Linked DNA regions of Homo sapiens: all the other regions are linked to region 3. The links are contacts of gene promoters, found by promoter capture Hi-C in blood cells and fetal thymus (Javierre and others, 2016). All regions are on one chromosome and are shown on one strand. The core of a region is centred on a gene start or on the middle of the fragment in contact, and the rest is flanking DNA. Distances in the headings are between cores, read along the strand shown.

Region 1 (2,983 bases), core at 436-2,935, 1.4 Mb after region 3:
AAATATGTTCTGCCCCCAAATAAATTTTTAAATTCTTTTTTTGGAACATGGAACACATGTCCCCACAAAAAAAAGGTGTTATAAAGGGATGTGTTTCCCAGATTTCCTCACAAAAGTGCATTTAACCCACGATGTAACTGAAATAATGTACACTGACAATGAGAAATACAGTGGAACAAAACTGACTTGAAAGCAGGGACACACCAATACACAACAAATATTTCTTGAGCTTTTCTCCTTTGCAGCCCCATGCAAGGAAAGAGGAATTCTATCTTTCAATAGCTGCAACATGGTGAAAAATAAATCCTCCACTGTTGCTGTCCTTAAGGGTCCTTCTCAAGACAGGGTATTTAGGGTGTCCATTGCCTCAAGTATTTATCATTTCTATGTGTTGGGAACATTTCATGTCCTCTCTTCTAGCTATTTCGAAATATACATTGCATTGTTTGTTCAGTAGAGTCACCCTACTCTACTTTGAACATTATAACTTATTCCTTCCATCTAACTGTATATTTGTACTCATTAACTGACCTCTCTTCATTGATCCGCCTCAACCCCACACACCCTTCCCAGACTTCTGGTACCTATCATTCTACTCTCTACCTCCATGAGATCAACTTTTTAGCTCCCACATATGAGTGAGAACATGTGTTATTTGTCTTTCTGTGCCTGGCTTATTTTGTGCAACATAATAAACATCAGTTTCATTTATGTTGCTGCAAATGACATTTCATTCTTTTTTATGGCTACATAGTATTCCATTGTGTATACAGACCACATTTTCCTTAACCATTCACCTGCTGATGGACACTGATTGATTCTGTATCACGAAATGATTTTATATCCATGATCATTCATATTATGTGTTGTATTATTACCAAATAATAATGGAGGTGCAAATAGAACCTGTGCCAAAAAATCACAGTAATTCATTTCAATTGCTAATATTGAGTGCCTACCACATGTTGCCCCAGGTTCGGTGGGTAACCTTGTCCCCTAGGAATTTAAAAATGCAGTGGTGAAGGTAAGAGAAGTGTTCCTGCACATTGGCTACCTGAGAGGTACCAGAGGTGAAAATAGAGCAAATATACGTAAAACTTGAGAGTCAGACTTTGCCTTGTAAGTGAATGTGTTTGCAGCTGCAATCAAGAGATTCAAGGAGTGCTTCTCTTTGTGCAGAATTTAGGAAGGTGGAAACAGCACCGCTAATCCTACCTCTTTAGGGATCCGGGAAAGGGCAGTCCCAGAGGGGTTCCGCGCTTTGCAAATGGTGAAAAAGACCTTCTACAGTACAGTTAGGAGCAGAGGAAAAGTTCTTTGTGCAAGAAGGGGAGAGCGCCCCGAGGTACAAAGAGCAGATTTAAGGGAAAGAGGATTCGTTCTGCACGCATCTGCGAGGGGAGCTCAGGCTCACTGTTGGGGGCGTGTGGGAAAGGAGATTTTCAGGGGGCCGCGAGTTGTGGGTTCCCGCCTCCACCCCTGTCCGCGCCCCACACTCAGGCAACAGTTGGTCGTGCGGGGCCGGCCCGGGCTCTGGGTGGGGAAGGGGAGTCTCGCGATCGTTGAGGGGGGGGGGGTGGAGGAAGGGGGGAGAGTGACGGGGGGAGGCCATGACGTAGGGTGGGTGGACGGAAGTGGGGCAGGGTTGAGGGTTATTTAAAGAAGGGGGGGCCTGAGCGAAGGGGTTGGAAGCGGAGTGATTCCCCACCCCTGCTCCATCTAGCTCTTTCCAGTGCAGCCACTGCCGCCGCCCAGGAGCCCTCGTCCCCTGCCTTGTCCCCCTACTCGTTCCCGCTCCCACGGCATGGAGCAGGACACTGCCGCAGTGGCAGCCACCGTGGCAGCCGCGGATGCGACCGCCACTATCGTGGTCATAGAGGACGAGCAGCCCGGGCCGTCCACCTCTCAGGAGGAGGGAGCGGCCGCCGCGGCCACCGAAGCCACCGCGGCCACGGAGAAGGGCGAGAAGAAGAAGGAGGTAAATAGGAAGGGGGTGTGTGTGTGGTGGACAAATCCTGTGCCTGGCCCCTCTGAGGGGCCCAAACCCTGACCTTTCGGCGCCGACAGGTACCCGCGGAGCTTTGCGGGGCTAGGGGCGGCGGGTGCGGGGGTCGGCGGCGGAACCGCCTGGCGTTCGCTCCCCTCCCCCTTTCCTTCTCGCCGCCTGGAGGACGGGGGCGGGGCTGGGCGCGGGCGGGAGCGGCGCGGGGTGGAGGGGTGCCCGCTCTCCCGGGGCCTGGGGGCTCGGGAGCCCCTCGACAGCCCCCGACCCCCTCCACCTTCCCGGAACTCGGGTAACGGGGTGGGGGATGGGGCTGTGCAGGAAAAAGCCTCCGCCTCTCCCTCTCCTCTCGCTCGCTCCCTCTCCCCCCGCCTTCCCGTCGGCCTCTGCCTGGGAAATCTGGGCCCTTCAATCCCACACTCGCGCTAAAGGGGTTTTGCTGGGGCTTTTTTTGTAATTTGAATTTCAAGGTGCTGGTGGTTGCTGGGTGGAGGGTGACAGGGAAGACATTTCTTTCTTTCATTGGCAATGTCGGTCTTTTGGATGGCAGGAAAAAAACCATCCCTTGTTCGTTTGAACCCCGCCTGCCGAGGTGGGGGTGTCACCCCGAGGAAAGGAGCTCTCTGCGTCGTACCCCCCCGCCCCCCCAAACTGAGGAACCGTGGACGCTGGCTTAGGAAAATTTCCAACATCTGCACCCTCACCCTCTTCTGCCCCGCCCCCGACGGTATAGGGTTTCACTCCAGGGCCACCCCAATGGTCCCTCAATCCGGCCCCAAGCTTTCCAGGCTTCCGCCTCCCTCTCCTAGTGGGCGCTGCTGGCTCCTGGACACACACAGGTTTTTTTTTTTTTTCTCCTTTAATTTTTAAAAAACTCAGCGTCGCCAAGATGAGCTGCTTCTAACGTAAGGGAACTGCTCTGACACATATTAAAGCCAATCCAGAAAATATGTATTATCTCCATAAGGCACATTTCGTGTG
Region 2 (3,254 bases), core at 717-3,216, 1.1 Mb before region 3:
CGAGAAGCATGGAGACCCTCAGAGACAAACTTCACATGTGCATCGTTTTACTCTCCACAGAATGGAAAGAAGAGCACGGTGAGAAAATGTCACTTTTTCCCAGATCAAACAGCAAAACTGTACTTAGTATTGTGAACTATGAATTCCCTTGATACAATCAAAGGCAGAACTGAATGAATGGGGTGTGGGGCAGGGTGCGTGGGGAAAAGAAGGAGGGAAGGAGAGGGGAGGCCGCCTGAGAGGAAGAAAGTTTAAGGCATTTTGCAAGGCTTGAGTGGATTAATCTTTTTTTTTAAGCCCTACTATTTCCTATTTCCCTTTCTCTCTCTCTCTTTATTTAATATACACTAACTTCCTGAGACTCAACCCAGACTTGCCCTAAATGCAGCTGAAATGTCTGGTGTTTAGGACACACCAAGAGTTCTAGGTGCACAAATAAATCCCATTTTGGGAAAGAATTTAAAAATCACTTTTGTGGACATTCATAAAATGAGAACACTGAAAAAAAAAAAAAAACTCCATGTATCAATAAGTAAATTGAGGCCCCAGTCTACAGCTCTTTGATTTCTACTAGAAATATAAGCTATTTACTATAAACATTTTATTTTTGAACTTCAAAAAAGTTTGTTTTCACATTTTAGATCATGAAAGACTGAGGCTTCAGTGGTTTTAGCCCCTAAATGGGTTGTTTAGGCCATCTAGCAAAGGAAAAAAAAATAGAACATGAATGCTTTAAAAAGTTAGTAAATTTGGATAACACTTAGCAGATAGCCTAAAATGCACCGATTTAAAAACATAACAGCATAAAAAGTTTTCTGACATAGCTTATCTTTAATAAAATGAAAATATAATGGGAGGGGGTTGGGCTGGGTAGACTTCGAGTAACAAGTTGGGTCCCATGCAGTAGTCCCTTGTCCAAGACAAAAAGCTTCCTTTAACCACATGTAACAGTCATCTTGTGGGAAAGGCACGGAGGGGGCTGAGAAGTCATCACCTCAGTGACTCTGAACAGAACCAGCATTTCTCACGCCACACTATGGGCTGGGCTAGGTCGGGGAGCAAGCTACAACTTTGCCCTTAAGCAGCAGTACCGAAAGGGAGAAAGAGGTCACCTCTCTCTTAGCCCTACGCACACAGGAAGAGCCCAATTCAAGCCGCCGCCGCCGCCACCCCTGGTGTTGCCCCGCCCCAACTTGAGTGTGTGTTTGGGGTGGGGGGTGTAGGGCACTCACTACTCGCGTTATACCCCACAAATTCCAAGGCACTTCCATCTCTCCCAGGTTAAGTTCCGCCCCCCCATCCCCAACCGTGCCAAGCTCAGCAGGCGCAGGTGTCTGTGGCTCTGGCCTATTTTTATACCCCCAACCGCCCTCAATCTCCACCTAGTTGCGCGCTCCAGTCCCGCCTCGCCTTCCCAGCGAAGAGCACTACCTAGCCTACACACCAGGAAACACCTCCAGCCCTACTCCCAGGTCACCTGGCCATAGTGACCGGCCCTGCCCTCAGGGGAGCCCTGGGGCCGTCCCTTGTCGCCGGTGCCCAGCACCGAGGGCGCACCGGGCTCCCAAGCAGTCACGTGGGCGGCGGGGGCGGCCTGCGCTTCCTCACCTGCATCCCAGGCACTTGGACAGCCACCGGCGAGTGGGCCATGGAGGCGAATGCTGCCTCGCTCCGCTTCTGCGGCGGTGGCGCCTTGGGTTCGGACTGGCTCCTCCCTCCGGGGGTAGTTCGGCGGCCCTCCCAGGCTTTTCGATCGGGGCCTGGGAGGACACACAAAAGTGGGGTTACTGGGCTGGCGGCGCGTAGCCCGGGGCTAGGAGGTGGGCTGTTAGCGGCGCAGCTCCCTGGGACTCAGTCTACCTTTCTGGCGCCCGCCCGCCGCTGAAGCAGCCGCCTCCGCTGCTGCTCCTCTTCCTGAACGCCGAGCGCTGTGAGTGGTGGTGGCTGGGACCTGGGCTCGAGTGATGCCGCTCCTCTGCGCCTCGCCGCTTTAGGAAGAGGAGGTGGAGGCGCCCCAGCCACCCGCCTGCTCGCCTGGCCTGGGAGGCGGTTGGGGGCGGTTCCGCCGTTGGCCCTGCCCCCGCCCCGCAGCCGGGCGGTGTCGCGGGAGCCAAGGCTCCAGGCAGCGAAGAGGTTTGGCTGGGGTTGCTGGAGTCTGAGAAGCTGGAGACTCTCCCGGCACGCGGAGAGGAGAACCCGGGGACCCGGAGACCTGGGACATGGCTGGGCCTGGGAAGAGAATGGAAGAGTTTGGGAAACCCTGAGGGTATGAGGGCGCCCCAGATGCGGCCACGTTGCAGGGAGGCGTGCGAGGCTGGGGCACACGCAGCCTCGGAGACGACTTGAGCTGAAACTTGGGGAGTGTTGGAAGTCTTTCTTGGCTCCCCGGCCTGGCCAAGGGTAGGATTACAGATAGCCGCGGAGTCGGTGGACCCCCGCTTTTTCCCGCCATCTGGTCTCCTCAGCTGGGGGTCGCGCCTCTGGGCAGATCTGTGGCCACACTCTTGCTTTCCGAGTTCCCTGACCCCAAACATGCTTCAGGTGACTTCAACTTAAGGTTCCCCCTACCTCCTGGGCTATCCCTTGCAGAACGGCCAAACTAGGGCTTCTCTCTACCACAAGTTCTGCACGTGTAAGGCAGAGGGAAATTGGAAAACAGATGGTACATCGGCAGAAAAATTAATGAGGATAGTAGAGGCTTGGGAAATGAGATTGGATCGTTAGCAGTACAGGTTATTGAAATCAGCATACACTGCAGTGGTTTTGGTAACTCCCTGCCTCCGCCCCATTTTAAGTTCTACTCCAGGAGAGGGAGACAGGCTCTTTTGAGAGTACTCTAACAGTAGCGACAGTAACACTGGTAATAATAGTAACAGGAATTTCATTATGAAGGCACCTTTGGGAACACGTAAGGGGTTAATTACTTTTTAAAAAAGTAATAGTCGAGTGCCAGTTTAAAATGAAGATGAAGTTCCTTACCTTGAAATTTGTTATGGGTCTCTACGCACCACACGGTGGGGGGCCTCTAGTGGTAAAAGATAGTTTCTCTTCTTCCTTTTAAATCTTTTTCAGAGAATAGTATATAATTCTTATCAATATCGTTATTATTAATGGATATTATTTTCATTGTGCCAGGGACTGCTAAGTGCTTTCTATGTGTTATTAATACCTTACTGAACCTGTACAAGGGCCTTCTGGAGTCTTATTGATTTCCCCTCATTTTACAGATGAAGAAAAAGGCTCAACCAGGTTAA
Region 3 (2,964 bases), core at 296-2,795:
ATATGACCCCTTGTTGCTGCCTGATCTAGTCTCTGCAATATGGAACTTTTGCTATTGTTCTCTGCACTCTTTCATGCCTTTATGCCTTTGCATATGCTTTGTATAGAATATGGTTGACCTCCCTGCCCCAAATCTGACAAATATTTTACTGGTTCTTCAACCAGTTCTCCAGAAGTAGAACAAGTTCTTCCTCCTCTATGTTCCTATAGAACCCTATGTAGACTTCTTTACAGCATTTTGCACATTGTATACTCATCTATTCCTCCCCCCAGATTCTCCTCTACTACAACTCCCCTCACCTGGATTTTGAGCTACTTGAGGGTAGGGACTATTTTTCCAATTCTGTGGCAACAGTGCCTAGCCCAGAGCTTTGCACAAAGCACTATGCTGAATAAATGGTTGAATTTATTAAATCGTCTTCCTCCTTCACTTATCTTTTTAAAATATTGGGCAATTACCTCAGCAAAATGCAATTCCCCTGTCTTTCCCTTCATTTTACTCGTGAGTCGAAAAGTTGTCCTCATCAAGAAGTTGTAGTAATTCAACTGTAACAAGGCTACAAGGATTCATCTCTAACAGAGAAAAAAAAAGGTCAAAAGTTGGGAGTGAAATTAGCCCTAATAAACAACCATTTTCCTCAACCTTTAAGTCACTTGGAAGTGCTTGGCATTCCCCACCTATGTCTTTATCCAGCTCTTGTAACATATTTTTACTCAAAAGGTTAAGTTTCTTAAAGACACATATAGTTACTCGTTTGTACTTAAGTTGTATTGTCTATCTGTTCTAAATTGTTATTTATAGCAGTTTATGTGGCCACTGTTTTTCATGGCAACAACATAGCTTCATTATGGATTAAATAGGCTTCTTCTGGGCTGGTGTAGATCACATTTCTATGCCTATTTATGACACTGTTTCCAGGGGGAACTATAATTTCCAATTAGAAAAAAATATATACATTCTTCCATACCTTTCAAGTGATTTTAATGCAGGTGGTTCACAAGGAACACACTTTAACAATTTTAAAGGACTATAACTCTCAATTAAAATTCTAAGCTTACCAAAGAATAAACATCATCTTTTGAAAAACACTTAAAACTCAATAACAATTTCAAATCACGATAGAAAGTGCTTCCCGCAAAATGCTAAGAGCTTAACCGACATGAAAATAAATCTAGAGCCTTCGTCTGTCCCCACAAGCACAAACCCATAACCCCAAGAGAGATTCTCTAGACAGTGCACCCAAACTACAATACCCAGAATACCCTTCCCCGTCTGAACGCTGGGGACAATCGGAAGGGGAGGGGAAGAATTGTGCGTATAGAGAAATAAGTGTCCCGCAACTCCATCTCCCATAATTCTCGGTCCTCACTTGTGTCTGTCTGCCAATGTCAACACGAGTTACCCCCAGGAAGAACAGCCTCCAGCGACCTCAAACTACATTTCCCATGAAGCCATGGGCTCGGGCCTCCGGCTTCCCCGGTGACCAGTAGCCAATAGGAGACGCCGCAGTGGGCACCCTGTGTGTGAGAGTCCAGCCTTGGGCCAGAGTGCCGGGTCTAGGCCTGGAAGCGCGAGGCGGGCATTTCGGAAGAGAGTGGCGCGGCGTGGGGCGCCGCGAGGGCACTACGAGCCCAGGAACTGCCGCGCCGGCCCGATTTTCCGCGGCTGTATAAGGACTAGCGCTTCGGTAGCCGGGGAGCTGGAGGTCAGAGAGGCAGAAAGCCCCGGTGGCCGTGGCTGGGGACTGTGGGACTGAGGGGGCCTAGGGAGGAGGGTGCTTCCGGGGCCGCGGTCCTCAGCGCCTAACTCCACCCAGCTCCACCTCTGCAGGGGAGGGGGTATCGGGACTGGGAGTCGGGGGTGGGCTTTTGAGCTCTAGGCGCCAGTTCTCTTGAGCCCGGGAGCGCGCTGTCTTTGCTCTTTTTTTTTTTTTTTTTTGGTCCAACTCGCCCGCCCCTTTTTTTTTTTCCCACGACGCCGCCCCCCTCCCCCTGGCTCTGTGCCTCCTCAGAGGTCCGAAGTTGGGGTTTGCGTCCAGGGTTTTGCCTAGGCGGTGACTGGACTCTAATTCTTACCGCAGGAATTGGGTGATCTCTTTCCTCTTTTCCCTCAATTTGTATTTCAGGTTTGGGCACATAACCCTCCCTGCGCTACACTCCCCATTTTCTTTGGGGCATGGGAATTCCTTGCCACGCTCAGGGCGTGACTTTTTTTTTTCAAACTTTCTCTTTTTGCCTCCTTAATTGATCGCCATCTCTTTACTGGCCCCTCAGCCACCTGCCACTTCCCCCACCAGGTCTTTGAAGTGGGGAGAGTTTCCCCTCAATTTCTAGAAGGGATGGGAAGCAAAAGAGGGAAGGAATCTTGCTTTTGAGAAATGTGTGTTTAAGGTTCAGTGCAGGGTTCTGGTGAGAGTAAAAGGCAAGTTAGACTGGTTATAAAAATCCAGCGCTTTAGGGGTTTCCAGCAAAGACTGATAGCACTAATGTTGACAAACATTTAGGGGGCACACCTTTATTCTACAGAATAAAGTAGACCGTGTGAAACAGACCATATTAATCATTGTATTATTACAAACGTGTGCAAAAAACGCTAAGAGGGGTCAGTGGAAGAGCATACTGATGGGGGTGGTGAGTTCATCTATGGAAGTTCAAGCCTAACCCGGGAAGTGCTGAAGCCCTCATCCGGCTTTCAGGCTTTGTGAAGGAGGTGAATTTTAATCTGGGCTCCAGCAGAGTACAGGGGATTTGAAGTTGTCAAAGAGGAGGGAGAAAATGCTTCCTGCTACTGAGATTGGACTTTGAGAAGGGTAAACAGAAGAGGGAGCACTGTGAGACAGGTGGGCTTGCCTGATTGGAATAAAAGATATCAGCACAAATATACTGGGAAATAAATAGGGTGGAGAAGCTTGGGGTCATAATAACATGATACTTTGAAACATACACATAGTTTGGATATTATTCT
Region 4 (3,393 bases), core at 888-3,387, 1.3 Mb after region 3:
GCACTTCCTAAGCAACCCAGATCAACAACAACCACAACAAAAACAGGGGAATTCCCAGGTAGTGACTAATAATAGCTCATTTCACCCTCACTGGCTGTGTGGCCTTGAGCAACCTGTTTGACCTCTCTGAGCCTCAATGTCCTCATCTGTAAAACTAGGAATAATAATGGTACCTACCTCATAGGGCCACTGTGAGAATTAAATGAGTTAATAGATGCAAAGTGTTTGGAACAATGCATGGTACATAATAAGCACTATATAAATGTCTCTTATTATTTGTCTTGTTTTGTGCTGGACACTGTGTGTCTTCAGAGAGGATCTATAACCCCCCTCCCTGTGCCCAGCACAAAACACATAAGCATAATATGAGTTAGCCATTGCTACTACTATCAGTACATTATTATTAAATGATGATAATTAAAAGTAGTAATTGCTTGATTTATGCTTTTTCCATTGGAACTGCAAGTTCCATGGAGGCAGGCAAGGACCATGCCAGCCTAGAGCCCTAGAACATAGTGGATGCTAAACTTATACACAGTAGGTGCTCAATGAAACCTCAGGAGTGTCTTTCACCTGGGAATTTGATAACTCTACTACTACTTTAGGACTCAAGTATTTCTTTTTTTTGAGATGGAGTCTTGCTCTGCCACCCAGGCTGGATTGCAGTGGTATGATCTTGGCTCACTGCAACCTCTGCCTTCCAGGTTCAAGCAATTCTCCTGCCTCAGCCTCCCATGTAGCTGGGATTACAGGCGCCCGCCACCATGCCTGGCTAATTTTTGTATTTTTAGTAGAGACAAGATTTCACCGTGTTGGCCAGGCTGGTCTTGAACTCCTGACCTCAAGCAATCCACCTGCCTCGGCCTCCCAAAGTGCTGGGATTACAGGCATGAGCCACCATGCCCAGCCAGAACTCAAGTATTCTTAAACATGAGTCATCACTGCCTCTTCCCTACCTTGCAGGAGACAAAGGCTATAGAGACCTCAGTCCCTATTTTCCCTTGGGAAACTCACAGTCTAGTAGGCTCAGCCCTAAGAAATTTCTCCGAAGACATTCAGAAGTAAGTAATTGATGAACAAGATAGGGGATGACTGTGATATTTATTAACAAAGAAATAAACTGGGTGATGACAAACAGTATATGTGTTTCTGGGGTACCAGGGGAGATACTTTGACTTTATATGGGTTGTCAGACCTCTATGAGCTAGTGGCTTTTGAGCTGAGCCTGAAAGATGAAAAGGAAGCAGCCCACAAAAATCTGGAGGAAGAACATTCCAGGCAGAGAGAACAGCCAGCACAAAAGCCCCAGGGCAGCAAAGGACTTGGGGCCTCTTGGACCAGAATGGAGGCTGGTGTCCCTATGGGATTAGGCAGAGAGATAAGGTTAAAGAGGCAGGTGTGGGCTGATCATGCCAGGGCGTTTACGCCATCTTAAGGGAGGGTCATGAGCACAATAACAATTCATAGCATTGAGACCTTTCCCAAAAACACCTTGTCACTACACATGGCTCAATGATCTACATTCTATTCGAGCAGAGGAAAGATGTGGCACTTAGTCAACCATTTTCCCATCACAGTTCTGAACATGTTGGAAAAGCAAAGCTTCTCTTTTTTGGACTTCACCAATTCAAGCTTTGAACTAGTTCATATAGCGGTTGGGCTATGAGACAGTGGGTTTGATACACTGCCTCCCAGTACCCACCAAAGGAACCCAGGATCTTCTGTTTAAAAAAACAGACCCACCAGCAAGTTAGAAATCAACCATGGCTGTGCTGCTTGCATATCAGGCTTATCTATTCACTAAAGCTCGCTCCTGAAGATTCCTATTTGACATAATTGTGTTAACCCTCTTCCTATTGCTATGTAGTGGAAAATGATTGTTAAAAAAAAAAAAAAACACGTTGGCCGGGCACAGTGGCTCACGCCTGTAATCCCAGCATTTTGGGATGCTGAGGCGGGCGGATCACAAGGTCAGGAGATTGAGACCATCCTGGCTAACACGGTGAAACCCCGTCTCTACTAAAAATACATAAAATTAGCAGGGCATGGTGGCGGGCGCCTGTAGTCCCAGCTACTTGAGAGGCTGAGGCAGGAGAATGGCGTGAACCCGGGAGGCGGAGCTTGCAGTGAGCCGAGATTGCGCCACTGTGCTCCAGCCTGGGTGACAGAGTGAGACTCTGTCTCAAAATAAATAAATAAATAAAATAAAACACGTAGTTTTGGGGGAAACATTCAATATGTTGATTTTTAAAAACAGAATAAAAACTCTGATCTCTGCCTAATTCATCTGAATTTCCTGAGTGTCTATTGATATATCTGTGATGAAGGATTTGTGTTCACATCCTGGGCAGAAGACATAGTAAACCTCGAAATATACCAAACACAGGGACAAGTTCCCTCCTCCCCCCTCTTCCCCCAAGAATTCTATTCAGAACCAGGTTCCTGGTCTTGGTTCCTTGAACCTGCCTGGCAGACAGTCCCAGGTGTGTGTTTCCTTACACTTTACATCCGAGCCACTGTTCTGACTTTCGAGACTTTCCTTCTTCCTCAAGGCTCAGCCTAGAAGACAGTGTGTGGCACAGATTGCGCTCAGCAAATATTTGCTCCCCTACATTTCTCAGCCTTTCTTGCAATTAAGCTTGGGCCACGTGACTAATTCTGACCAAGAGAGTCAGTGAACTTAATGTGCATCATTTCTGGGCCAAGACAGTTAAGAGTTGGTGTGCTGTTATGGGCTGAATTGTGTCCCCCTTATCCATATATTGAAACACTAGACCGCCAGTGTGGCTGTATTTGGTGTTAGGAAGTAATTAAGGTTAAATGAGTATGGGGCCCTGATCCAATAGGATTAGTGCCTTCGTAAGAGGAGATACCAGAGAGCTAGCTCTCTCTCAGCCATGGGAAGACACAGCGAGAAGTCAGCCATCTGCAAGCCAGAAAGAGTGCCCTTACCTGACACTGAATCTGCCAGTGTCTTGACTGTGGGCTTTCCAGCTGTGGAACTGTGAGAAATGAATTCCTCTTCTTTAAGCTACCCAGTCTATGCTAGTTTGTTATGACAGCCCATGCTGACTAAGACTATTTACTTCTCCATCTGTCTTTCCCCCTGCTGTGGAGTTCTAGGAGGCCACATGTTTCAGGTTGGCCTTACTACGTGTCATCCAACCTGCACTAGACTTTTGTGAGAACCAGAAATAAGCCTTTCTTGTGTTAAACCCCTGAGATTTCAGGGTTTCTGTGTTATTGCAGCATAACTCCACATATTCTGACCAATGCACAGTGACAGAGAAAAGGACATGGCACATCATCTTTGTCCAAACAAAAGCAAAAGCAGATGTGGGCCACCAGCTGTTCTCCCTCTGGCCCATCTTGTCTCCAAGGCTGAAGGTGGCC
Region 5 (3,032 bases), core at 323-2,822, 1.3 Mb after region 3:
CAGGAGCCACTCAACAAATACTTGTCAAGTGAATAACCCATACTGAGATGTAGGAGGAGGAGTGATGGTTGATGGGGAAAAGTCCAGAGAGGGTGGAGGAGAAGGGCTCAAAAGTGCAGGTGGAAGAGCTGGTCTTGGCGAGGAGGACCGCTTATTCTCAGACAGATGGAAAGGGGGAGGGATGAGGTTAAGCTGAAGACATTTTGATGTGCAGGGGGCAAGGCTGTTTTGACATTTTCACAAAGTAAAGGGTACAGTCACTTGCTGGGAGCTGAAGGGCAGCAGAAGCGGGTTCTGGGCCTGGAGGCCCATGGAGGGCTTGGGAATAATTGCACTAGCTGCCATTTATTTAGCACTTAGGCACCAGGCACTGTTCCAAGGCCTGGAAATGTAGTATCTGATCTCATCCTCATGATGATACTATGAGGAAAGGTGCTATCATTACTTTTAAGATGTGGAAACACCTTCAATACGTACAATTTGTCTTCTCAATTATACCCAATAAAGCTGGAGAGAAAAGACATGGAAACCAAGGCACAGAGACGTCAATTAACTTTTGATCAGGGTCACACATCTAGAAGTGGCAGAGCTGGGATTTGAACTCAGGCAGTCTGGTCATTAGAGCCTATGTGAAGAACCACTATAGCTTCCTGCCTCCCCAGGCCCCGTGGAGCAGGTACGTGAGGTCATCAAGAGAGGAAGAGGAAGATTGTGGAAGAGTACATGGCAAGCCCAGGGGCAGTCAGCCAGCATGCTATACCAGGAAGCCCAGGAATGAGGGCAGAGAGTCAATGGGACAGGGCGGGTGACTTAGGGTTAGGCACAGCAAAGATGGGGACTGAGGCAAGAAAGAGAGAGGAAGGAGTTTTCTGGGTAAACAGCACATGCAAAGGCCCTGAGGCTGGAAAGAGTTCAGCTCACTGGGAGGAGTAAAAGGACAGTATCAGAGTATATTGGCAGGGGTGAGGAAGGGTTATGGTAGGCAGAGGTCAGATCCTTTAGGGTGGTATTCTCAAAGTGTGGTCCTGCATCAAAATGCTCTTGGGTCCTGATTTAGAATGCAGACTCCTGTGCCTCCTCTCAGACCAACTGACTCAGAATTTCTGGAGCCTAGGAATCTGCTTTTTAACAATGTATCCAGGTGATTCTTCTGCACATGAAGATTTGAGACCCATTGATGCAGGGCCTGGTGGGCCATGGCGAAGCTTAGGTTTCATTGTAAATGTCGCTGAAGGGTTATCAACAGGGGAGGGATGAGACTGATGTAATTAAGTCATGCTGCCTGCTGCGTGGAAAATGGATTGGAGGGCAGCAAAGTTAAAAAGACCAGGCAGGGCATGGTGGGCTCATGCCTCTAATCCCAGCACTTTGTGAAGCCAAGGTGGGAGGACTGCTTGAGCCCAGGAGTTTGAGACCAGCCTGGGCAACACAGGGGGACCCTACCTCTACAATTATTTTTTTTTTAATTAGCCAGGCTTGGTAATGTGCGCCTACAGTCCCAGCTACTCGGAGGCTGAGGTGGGAGCATCGCTTGAACCTGGGAAGTCAGGCTGCAGCAGTGAGCCGATCATGCCACTGCACTCCAGCTGAGGCAACAGAGTAAGACCCTGTCTCAAAAAAGAAAAAAAAGAGAGAGAGAGAGAAAGAAGACTAGGCAGGAGGCCATGACGACACCCTAAGAAGGGATGATGGTGGTGGCCTTGACCAATAAAATTGGCAGTGGGGGTGATGAAAAGCAGACGCGTGGGGCACGTTGCTGAGGTGGTCGGTCGGTAGGAAAGAGAGAAATCAAGGCTAACTCCTAGATGCTTAGCCCCAGCAACTGGGCAGATGGTGTTGACATTCTCTGAGCTGAGGGAAGACAGGTAGAGGATCTAGGTTGGGTGGTAGTAAAAGAACCAGAAGTAAAAGAATTCCACTTTGGACGTGTGAAGCTTGACATGCCTGTGAGACATCTGAGGGGAGATGCCAGCTAACTAATTGGATATACTGGGCAGGAACTCGGAAGAGAGCTATGAGGTGGAGACGTAACATTTGGAATCAGGGGTATTACAGACATTTACAGCCACGGAAATTGATAAGATGCCACCAAAGGAATTAATGGGCAAGCAGAGTAGAACTGCTTGAAAAAACAAATGCCACTATGCCATGCAGTGTCACTAACCTAAGTAACCTTAGGTCAGTCATTGTCCCCTCTGAGACTTTCCCTATCCAAACAATGAGATTGGATTAGGTCACCACTAAGGTTCTCTCCCTAACATTTAGTGATGCCACTGTTGCAATGTGTGGCTTTTACATTATGAGGCTACACCAAGAGCCAGTTCTTCAACTTGCCCTGCAATCAGAAAGGTCCTAATGGGTCTCCTATAACAGAAGCCTCACAGCTGGGGATGCCATTTCCTCTCTAACCTCTGGAAAGACTGACCACCTGCCTGCTATTCTCATTGCCTGCTACTATGTAAAAACTTCTGGTGTCAGTCTCCATCTGCTGGGGGGAAAATCACTCTCAGAAAGAAACACCTTCTCCTGCCAAGGCTTTGGGTGGGGCTTTGAAAGTTGTTTATGACAACACTGAGTCAGCACATTCATCAGGGTCAAGCTCACAGTTGGAGGGAATTGGAAGAGGGCCTTAGTAGAGAAGAAACCTCCAGCTGAGGCTTCTTCAGTCTCAAAGGGAATGGAATCAGAATCCACAAATTCATAATGGAGATTGGCAGGGAAGCATTGGCACCATGCTCAAATCAGCGGTTTCCTCCCAACGTGTTAGGCAGTTCAGATTAGAACAACAAAAAAGTACTAAATTTATGGACTTGATCACCCCAAGAAGTCATAAAAGTTCAAAACTGGTTTTCAAAAGCTGCAAAATAGGATTATGTGAAAACAAGCTCTTTGGGGAAGCGCGTCTAAACTACTGAGACTACTGAGCAGGGGTAGCTGGGTTCTCCCCAGATGTGTATCTTAGGGTTTGTTTCTGGGGCCGGAGGGATCACAGATCTGACCTAGTGTGACATTTACATGCATTAAGAATCAAC
Region 6 (2,953 bases), core at 304-2,803, 1.4 Mb after region 3:
TCCGTGTAAATCTGACAGCATAGATACAGAGGATCTAAAAGTGGGGACTGAGAAAATTGGTTTTAGGCAGAAGCCAATGTTGGGAGATGGCAAGATTTAAGTGAACAATTTTTAAACTGGGAAGGAATATGATGTCAAGAAGCCAATGAATATCCAAGTGAGGTGTCTTGGGCACACAGGGATAGGGGCCTATGATACGTAATGGTCACCATGGATATTTTTGAGATAAGATATTAGTGACAATAGAGTGAGGTTAGCAGCTATGGTGATAGCTTATCAAAATAATCTTTTGATCAATCAGTCAACAGTATTTACGGAGCTCCTATGGCAGAGAGGAAGGTGACACACTGATAAAATACTGTCATTTCTATCTCTACACATTTCATTACCTTTTCTTTCTAACAGTAAAGTCAGTAAGTGAGGCAGTTTCTGGCCTACACTAAACCATTACTGAATTAATGAATATGCCTTCAACCCAGTGGGATAAGGGGACGGGGAGACTGGAGAAACCAGCTGAATAGGGTTAAGACAAGTCTGTAACGTTAACAATGAAGCATTTCCATAGCACTTTTACTTTTTGGAAGCCACTCTCGCATTTATTTTTCCCCCAGTTATAATTCCAAAGGCTGTAAGGTAAGGCAGTTAATGGTTTTATTAAACTGAAGAGTTAACTTTGGCCCAGAAAGCTTTATTGACTTGCCCAACGTTACACAACACATGTCAGTTGCAGGGGCAGGAACTAAGAACCCAGGCTTCCTGCTTCCCCGCCCATTCAGTCCTTCCACTGAGCCACACTGCCAAGCACAATCCAGAGGCTTGGAAGTTGGGGACAAAGCCCCGAGGTTAGAGAGCACTGGCACTTCACACCTGGACCTGAACCTGTTGCCCGCGTGGCTTCAGTAGGAGGACAGTGGGTGACCCGTCGCGGTTTGGGGTTGGGAGGTAATGGCAGGCTCCCCTCCTCTGTGGGAATCAGGTGGTTACTTACTCATATTGCCCGTTCCTCTGGGCTAGGGTCAGGGCGCAGGGCTCCCGGAGAGGACCCTTCATCTCCATACCCTCGACAGTATGCGGGCGCTAGTCAAGGGTCTCCTTCGGAAGCGCGGTGGGGAGGAGTGGTGCACTGCGGGGCGAAGGGGGTCTTCCACCCCCCCCCCACCGCCGCCCTCCCCCGCCCCGCCCCGCCCTGCTTCGTCTCCCGCGCCGGCCCCCTCCCCCTCTCTGCTCGGCCTCTGGGCCACCCGGTTGCCCCGCCCCACCGTGTTCCGCAGGGCCCCCGACCCCCACCCCCGGCCCTGCGCGGCCTCCCCTCTCCCTTCTCTCCGGCGGATACGGCAAGCGGCTGGGCTCCGACCGGGAGCGGCGGCTCCATCCAGGCGGCCTCCGGGCTCAGCAGGACAGCGGACTGCGGGCCGATCCGACGACACTGGCTCCCGCGTCCCCACACCCACCCACCTCGGCTGCGTGTCGTTTGAGGAACAGCTCCGCGCCGGGCGCCGGGCGCCGGGAGCCGGGAGCGGGGAGCTGGGAGCTGAGAATCTGACCCAAGAGAGAGCGGCGCCTCGCGCCCCCGCCAGTTTTCCAGGCCGCCGCAGATTCCGTCCCCTGCGGTCAAACTGCGGAACTGCAGCGAGAGACCTGACGGACTGGGGGCGTCTCTACCAGGTCCAGCAAGGAATGGGTTTTAAATGCCACCTGTGACATCAAAATTGTTCTGAGGACTTTGAAGGCCACAGAAACAAAACACAGTCATACCTATGGGAGATCTCAAACCTGTTGTGTCAATACGACCCACATCATTCAGTAAAAAAATACATATATATATATATATATATTTCTTAAGGTTATAATGTCCCGTGTTGGTTATCCTACCATTTCCTTTCCTCTTCTTTCTTCCACGCCCTAAATCGGAGAATTCCCCAAAGCCCAGACCTTTGCTCCTCCTCTGCGTCCCCTCCAGTTCACCTCTAACTAGACAATGTCCAAATATATATCCCTGGCCCAGACCTCTTACCTAATAGAGTCCATTGTTAACACATCACTGCGTCACAAAACTAACTCATTATCATTTCACTGGAAAGCCATATATCGTCTTCCCCCTCCTCATCTCTATATCCAATCAGTCAACACACCCTGTTAATATTTTACGTGGAATTACTTTTAGATTCCTTATTTTCTCTCCATTCACACTGCCATAACTTTATTGTAAGCCCTTGTGATAGCCTATCTGGGTTATTGCACTTTTCTTTAAATAAATCCTGTTGGGTTTACTCTTTCCTTTGACATGTTTACTCTGTTGACAGCCATAAAAATATTTTTCCCAAAGTAATTTTTCGATCGTGTTATTCATTTGCTCCAGAATCTATAATACACTAGATATCAAGAGTGACTGTAAATCTGTAGTAATTAAAAGTATGCTGTGGAGATAGACAATCAATGAAACACAATATAAACCCCTCAAACAGACCACACATATACGGAAGGTTGATATGCAGCGTGTGGGACATTTCAAATCAGTGGGGAAAGAATGGATTATCCACTAAGTGGTACTAGGACTACTGCTTATCCATATGGAAAATTATAAAAATTAGACCCCTACCTCAAACCATGGAAGAAAAATCAGTTCCAGGTGGATTAAAGATCTAAATGTGAAAAGCAAAACTTTATAACTTTCAGAAAAAAAAATTGAGTATGAGCTTGGAATATGGAATGAGAATAAGACATTTAGCTACATGAAATTTCAAAATGTATGTACTTTAAGACAATATAAACAAGTTAAAAGACAAACTGGCCTGCACAGTGGCTCATGCCTGTAATCCCAGCACTTTGGGAGGCCGAGGTGGTAGGATCACTTGAGCCCAGGAGTTCAAGACCAGCCTGGGAAACGTGGCAAAACCCTGTCTCTACAAAAACTATAAAAATTAGCTGGATGTGGTGGCAAGTGCTTGCAGTC
Region 7 (3,156 bases), core at 397-2,896, 1.1 Mb after region 3:
TTTCCTCCAGCTCAGCGCCCCTGTGGTTTGAGGCCTAGCAGTGTCTATAGAGCAATCTCTGTTTCCCACCCCCACCAGCCAGAGAGCAAGGGGAAGTGGCCCTGCTCTCTTAGGAGTGGCAGCCAATGGCAGTCCTGCTGGGCCTAGCACCCTGCAGGGTTTGGACGGGGATGACAGAGCCCGTGTGAAGATTCATGAACCTCCCCCCTCCCCCGCCCACCACCACTGCAACCTTAGAGAAGCAGCTGGGGTGGGGAGAATACAGCCGGAAGTGGCAGCCACCCCAGGACCTGAGAGCTGGGGCAGGATGCACACCCCACTGCCCCGAGTCTCAGTCTTTCAGCTGCCTTGGCCTCCATCTCTGAGCTACTCCCCTGACAAGGGGGATCCACCATAGGGCACCTGGGCTGAGTTCCAGGGAAAATTGGCGGGGGATAGCCTGGGCCTCTTGGACCTAGTTCAGGCCTGCTTTGGGACTGTCCTAGCATCCCATTGGATGTGTAGGATATACTTGCTGATTGTCTGGGAGAATCCTTCAATTGAATTAAAGAATTAGGTCTAGAAATCCTCAAACCCAACCAAAGAAATCTGGAAATCCTCAAATTCAACCACAAAATCCTAGATCTGGCACAGCCTTCAAGGATTCTTCCAGTCCGGTCTCTGCCCCAGGGGGATGAACACCTCAGCCATCCATGACAGCTGTTTTTCCTCCTGGCCTTTAAAATCCTCCCTCCTCAGCCTTCACTCCTACTCACCACCTCAACTTAATTTCTCATTCCCCACCCAGGAAGAACCTGTATGCCCCCTGCATCCCACTGCACTTCCGGATGCCTTTTCCCCCAAGACTGGAATGGCCTCAGGCCCCCATCTCCAGGTTGGCTCCATCTCGGGTAGGGCCTGGGAGCTACCACAGAGCTGAGCCAAGTGGGCAGGGTCTGGGCCATGGCCAAAGTGGAGGAGGGGGTGGCAGTCCTGTGAGCATCATGGCTCCAAGCTGGGCAGCCCAGCAGGGCCCTTTGAGTGAGATGGCTCCTGAGAGGCCGTGGCCGGGGCAGAAGTGGCAGCAGGACCAGCGTAGAGGAGAGATAGTTAAGTACAAGCTTAGGGTTCAGCTTAAGCATTGTATTTTGTTATTCTCAAATTCTAGTCTAAGATTCTGGCCCCTAATTTTAGATCTTTTTTCCCATTCTTCTAGGGTTGAATTGCATGACTCTAGATTTCTAAGGATCTATTCTGTAACTCTGTTGCTCCAGAATTTTAAACATCTCTTCTGTACTTCTGTTAACCTTTGGGTCCCTGTCCCGTTGCCTTCTAGGTGAGTGGCCCTCACCTACAGACTCAACATATGGCCTTTGGCTCTTCCCACTTCCAAGAGTCTTGGAAGGGATGGGTCGAGCAAGCAGAGGAAAGGAAGATGTGAGTTCCCAAAATGCTCCTCACCTTTTTCTTCTGAGTGGGCTCCTTCTCACTGGCATTGGAGGGCTTGCGGCGCAGCATGGTCCTCCACCCTGGGAGACTCCGTCCCTGCTCTCCTAGGTGTCAAGATGCAGAGGCCTCTTGCTTAGCCTCACCAGAACTGCCCGGGGGCACGGCATGAACCGAGCCTTCAGCTGCCACTCTGACTGCTGCAGTGGCAGCTTGGGGGTGCGGGCCATGGACACCCGGCAGCAGCAGCATACAGGAAGCCCTGCCACGTGACCTACTCTTACAGCAATCGCAGCCCCTGCCGGCCCCTAGGGAGGAAGGAAGTCCAAGCTTCAGTCTCCAGAGATTCTGATGCAGACGGCTCTTGGGTTGAACAGTCAGAGAAAGTCCCTACCTTGTTGTCTCATGTCGATCATCATCAGTCCTTCTGCTCCATCTTCCTAGAGGTGGACAATCAGCTCGACATTATATGGCGTACCCAAGCCCTTTATCTCACTGACCAGAATCCAGAAACCAGAAGTTGGACCATCTGGCTGCCTGTTGGATCAATGCTCCCGGTCAACTCACGTCTTCAAGGTCGTCACTGCCATCACTACCACTACCATCACCCCTGTGACCATCACCACTGCTACCATCACTCCTATCAATAGCCATCACCATACAGCCATCACCCCTACAGCCATCAGGCCTGCAGCCATCCCCGCTGCCATCAGCACACCTATAGCCATTGTCACTATGGTAATCACCTCTACAGTTGACATCCTTCAGCCATCACCTCTACAGTCATCACCATTGCTGCTATCACCCTTCCAGCCATCATCCTTACAGCTGTCACCCTTCTGGACATTACAGCCAACCGCACTCATGACCCTCTCACCCCTATAACCATCGTCCCTACAGTCATCTCTCCTACAACCATCATCACATCCGTGCAGCCATCAGCCCTGCAGCCATCACTCCTACAGCCATCAGTACACCTAAAGCCATCATCACTAGAGCAGTCACCCCTCCAGTCAGTACCCCTCAGCCATCATGAGTATATTTATCACCACCACAGCTGAAAAGCACTTACAGCCAACTCCACACCTCTAGCAAGTATCCAACAGGCATTTATCAAACACCTATGCAGTATATTCAATTTGTGGGTTGTCTGTGGCAGATTTTAATAACTTTAATAACTTCTTGGTATTACAAAAGCAACTTGTATTTGTCATACAATTTCACAAACACATAAACAAAAAAAATTTCAAAATTTCCCATCATTGTCCTCTACACTGTTTTAAGCATCTATCTACTCTCTGTCTATAAACATTTTTTTTCTTTTTACAAAAATCATACTGCTCAGAAAACAGATAATTGGTTTGGGGAGAAGGGGAGGGGAGAGAAGGGAAGGGAGACATCACACAGGGTAACAGGAAGCTTTTAGGAGTGATGAATATGTTCACTATCTTGACTGTGGTGATGATTTCATGGGGGAATACACATGTCAAAACGTATCAAATTGTATACTTCAAATATGTGCAGTTTATTGTAGCTCCATTATACCTCAATAAAGCTGTTTAAAATTTTTTAATTAAAAAAGGTCATAATTCACACTATTGGTGTCTGCTTTTCACACTAAACACAGTATCTTTTTTGTTTTTTTTTCGAGATGGAGTCTCTCACTCTGTCTCCCAGGCTGGAGTGCAGTGGCGTGATCTCGGCTCACTGCAACCTCCACCTCCTGAGTTC

What was found. The method cuts DNA at HindIII sites, captures the fragments that hold promoters and counts their contacts. A CHiCAGO score of 5 or more calls a contact.
Region 1: the fragment with the promoter of SMARCA1 here is called in contact with the fragment with the promoter of ENOX2 in region 3 in 4 of 17 cell types (non-activated CD4 T cells, fetal thymus, naive CD4 T cells and 1 more); the score reaches 8.0 in non-activated CD4 T cells.
Region 2: a contact is called between the fragment with the promoter of STK26 here and the fragment with the promoter of ENOX2 in region 3, in 3 of 17 cell types (total CD8 T cells, naive CD8 T cells and non-activated CD4 T cells). The highest score is 10.4, in total CD8 T cells.
Region 4: a contact is called between a fragment that was not itself captured here and the fragment with the promoter of ENOX2 in region 3, in 4 of 17 cell types (total CD8 T cells, activated CD4 T cells, naive CD8 T cells and 1 more). The highest score is 7.9, in total CD8 T cells.
Region 5: a fragment that was not itself captured here is called in contact with the fragment with the promoter of ENOX2 in region 3 in 1 of 17 cell types (non-activated CD4 T cells); the score reaches 5.9 in non-activated CD4 T cells.
Region 6: a contact is called between the fragment with the promoter of OCRL here and the fragment with the promoter of ENOX2 in region 3, in 6 of 17 cell types (M0 macrophages, naive B cells, total B cells and 3 more). The highest score is 8.4, in M0 macrophages.
Region 7: the fragment with the promoter of SASH3 here is called in contact with the fragment with the promoter of ENOX2 in region 3 in 8 of 17 cell types (total CD8 T cells, fetal thymus, monocytes and 5 more); the score reaches 12.6 in total CD8 T cells.

Annotation. Positions count from the first base shown.
Region 1 is chrX:129,522,192-129,525,174 of GRCh38, reverse strand. It overlaps SMARCA1 (SNF2 related chromatin remodeling ATPase 1), which reads left to right and starts at 1,685. Exons shown (of 25, transcript NM_001282874.2): 1 at 1,685-1,978. The coding sequence starts at 1,805. The HindIII fragment of the contact is 3,805 bases long and covers 1-2,784 here.
Region 2 is chrX:132,022,014-132,025,267 of GRCh38, reverse strand. It overlaps STK26 (serine/threonine kinase 26), which reads right to left and starts at 1,966. Exons shown (of 12, transcript NM_016542.4): 1 at 1,861-1,966; 2 at 1,609-1,760. The coding sequence starts at 1,650. RefSeq lists enhancers at 1,285-1,354, 1,324-1,871, 1,725-1,884, 2,335-2,384, 1,872-2,418 and a silencer at 1,925-2,174. The HindIII fragment of the contact is 2,994 bases long and covers 931-3,254 here.
Region 3 is chrX:130,901,790-130,904,753 of GRCh38, reverse strand. ENOX2 (ecto-NOX disulfide-thiol exchanger 2) reads left to right here and starts at 1,545. Exons shown (of 15, transcript NM_006375.4): 1 at 1,545-1,705. RefSeq lists enhancers at 1,330-1,519, 1,140-1,659, 1,530-1,799, 1,660-2,179. The HindIII fragment of the contact is 1,854 bases long and covers 1,056-2,909 here.
Region 4 is chrX:129,610,478-129,613,870 of GRCh38, reverse strand. No RefSeq gene overlaps it. Among named protein-coding and RNA genes, the nearest start is that of APLN, 43 kb to the left of the region's middle. The HindIII fragment of the contact is 1,006 bases long and covers 1,635-2,640 here.
Region 5 is chrX:129,592,846-129,595,877 of GRCh38, reverse strand. No RefSeq gene overlaps it. Among named protein-coding and RNA genes, the nearest start is that of OCRL, 54 kb to the right of the region's middle. The HindIII fragment of the contact is 729 bases long and covers 1,208-1,936 here.
Region 6 is chrX:129,538,859-129,541,811 of GRCh38, reverse strand. It overlaps OCRL (OCRL inositol polyphosphate-5-phosphatase), which reads right to left and starts at 1,553. Exons shown (of 24, transcript NM_000276.4): 1 at 1,334-1,553; 2 at 989-1,068. The coding sequence starts at 1,372. RefSeq lists silencers at 1,340-1,539, 1,650-1,709 and an enhancer at 1,426-1,720. The HindIII fragment of the contact is 8,325 bases long and covers 689-2,953 here.
Region 7 is chrX:129,778,439-129,781,594 of GRCh38, reverse strand. It overlaps SASH3 (SAM and SH3 domain containing 3), which reads right to left and starts at 1,646. Exons shown (of 8, transcript NM_018990.4): 1 at 1,441-1,646. The coding sequence starts at 1,497. LOC124905215 (a long non-coding RNA gene) reads left to right here. Exons shown (of 2, transcript XR_007068328.1): 2 at 1,316-3,020. RefSeq lists enhancers at 1-28, 1,296-1,355, 1,406-1,485, 1,736-1,895. The HindIII fragment of the contact is 655 bases long and covers 1,103-1,757 here.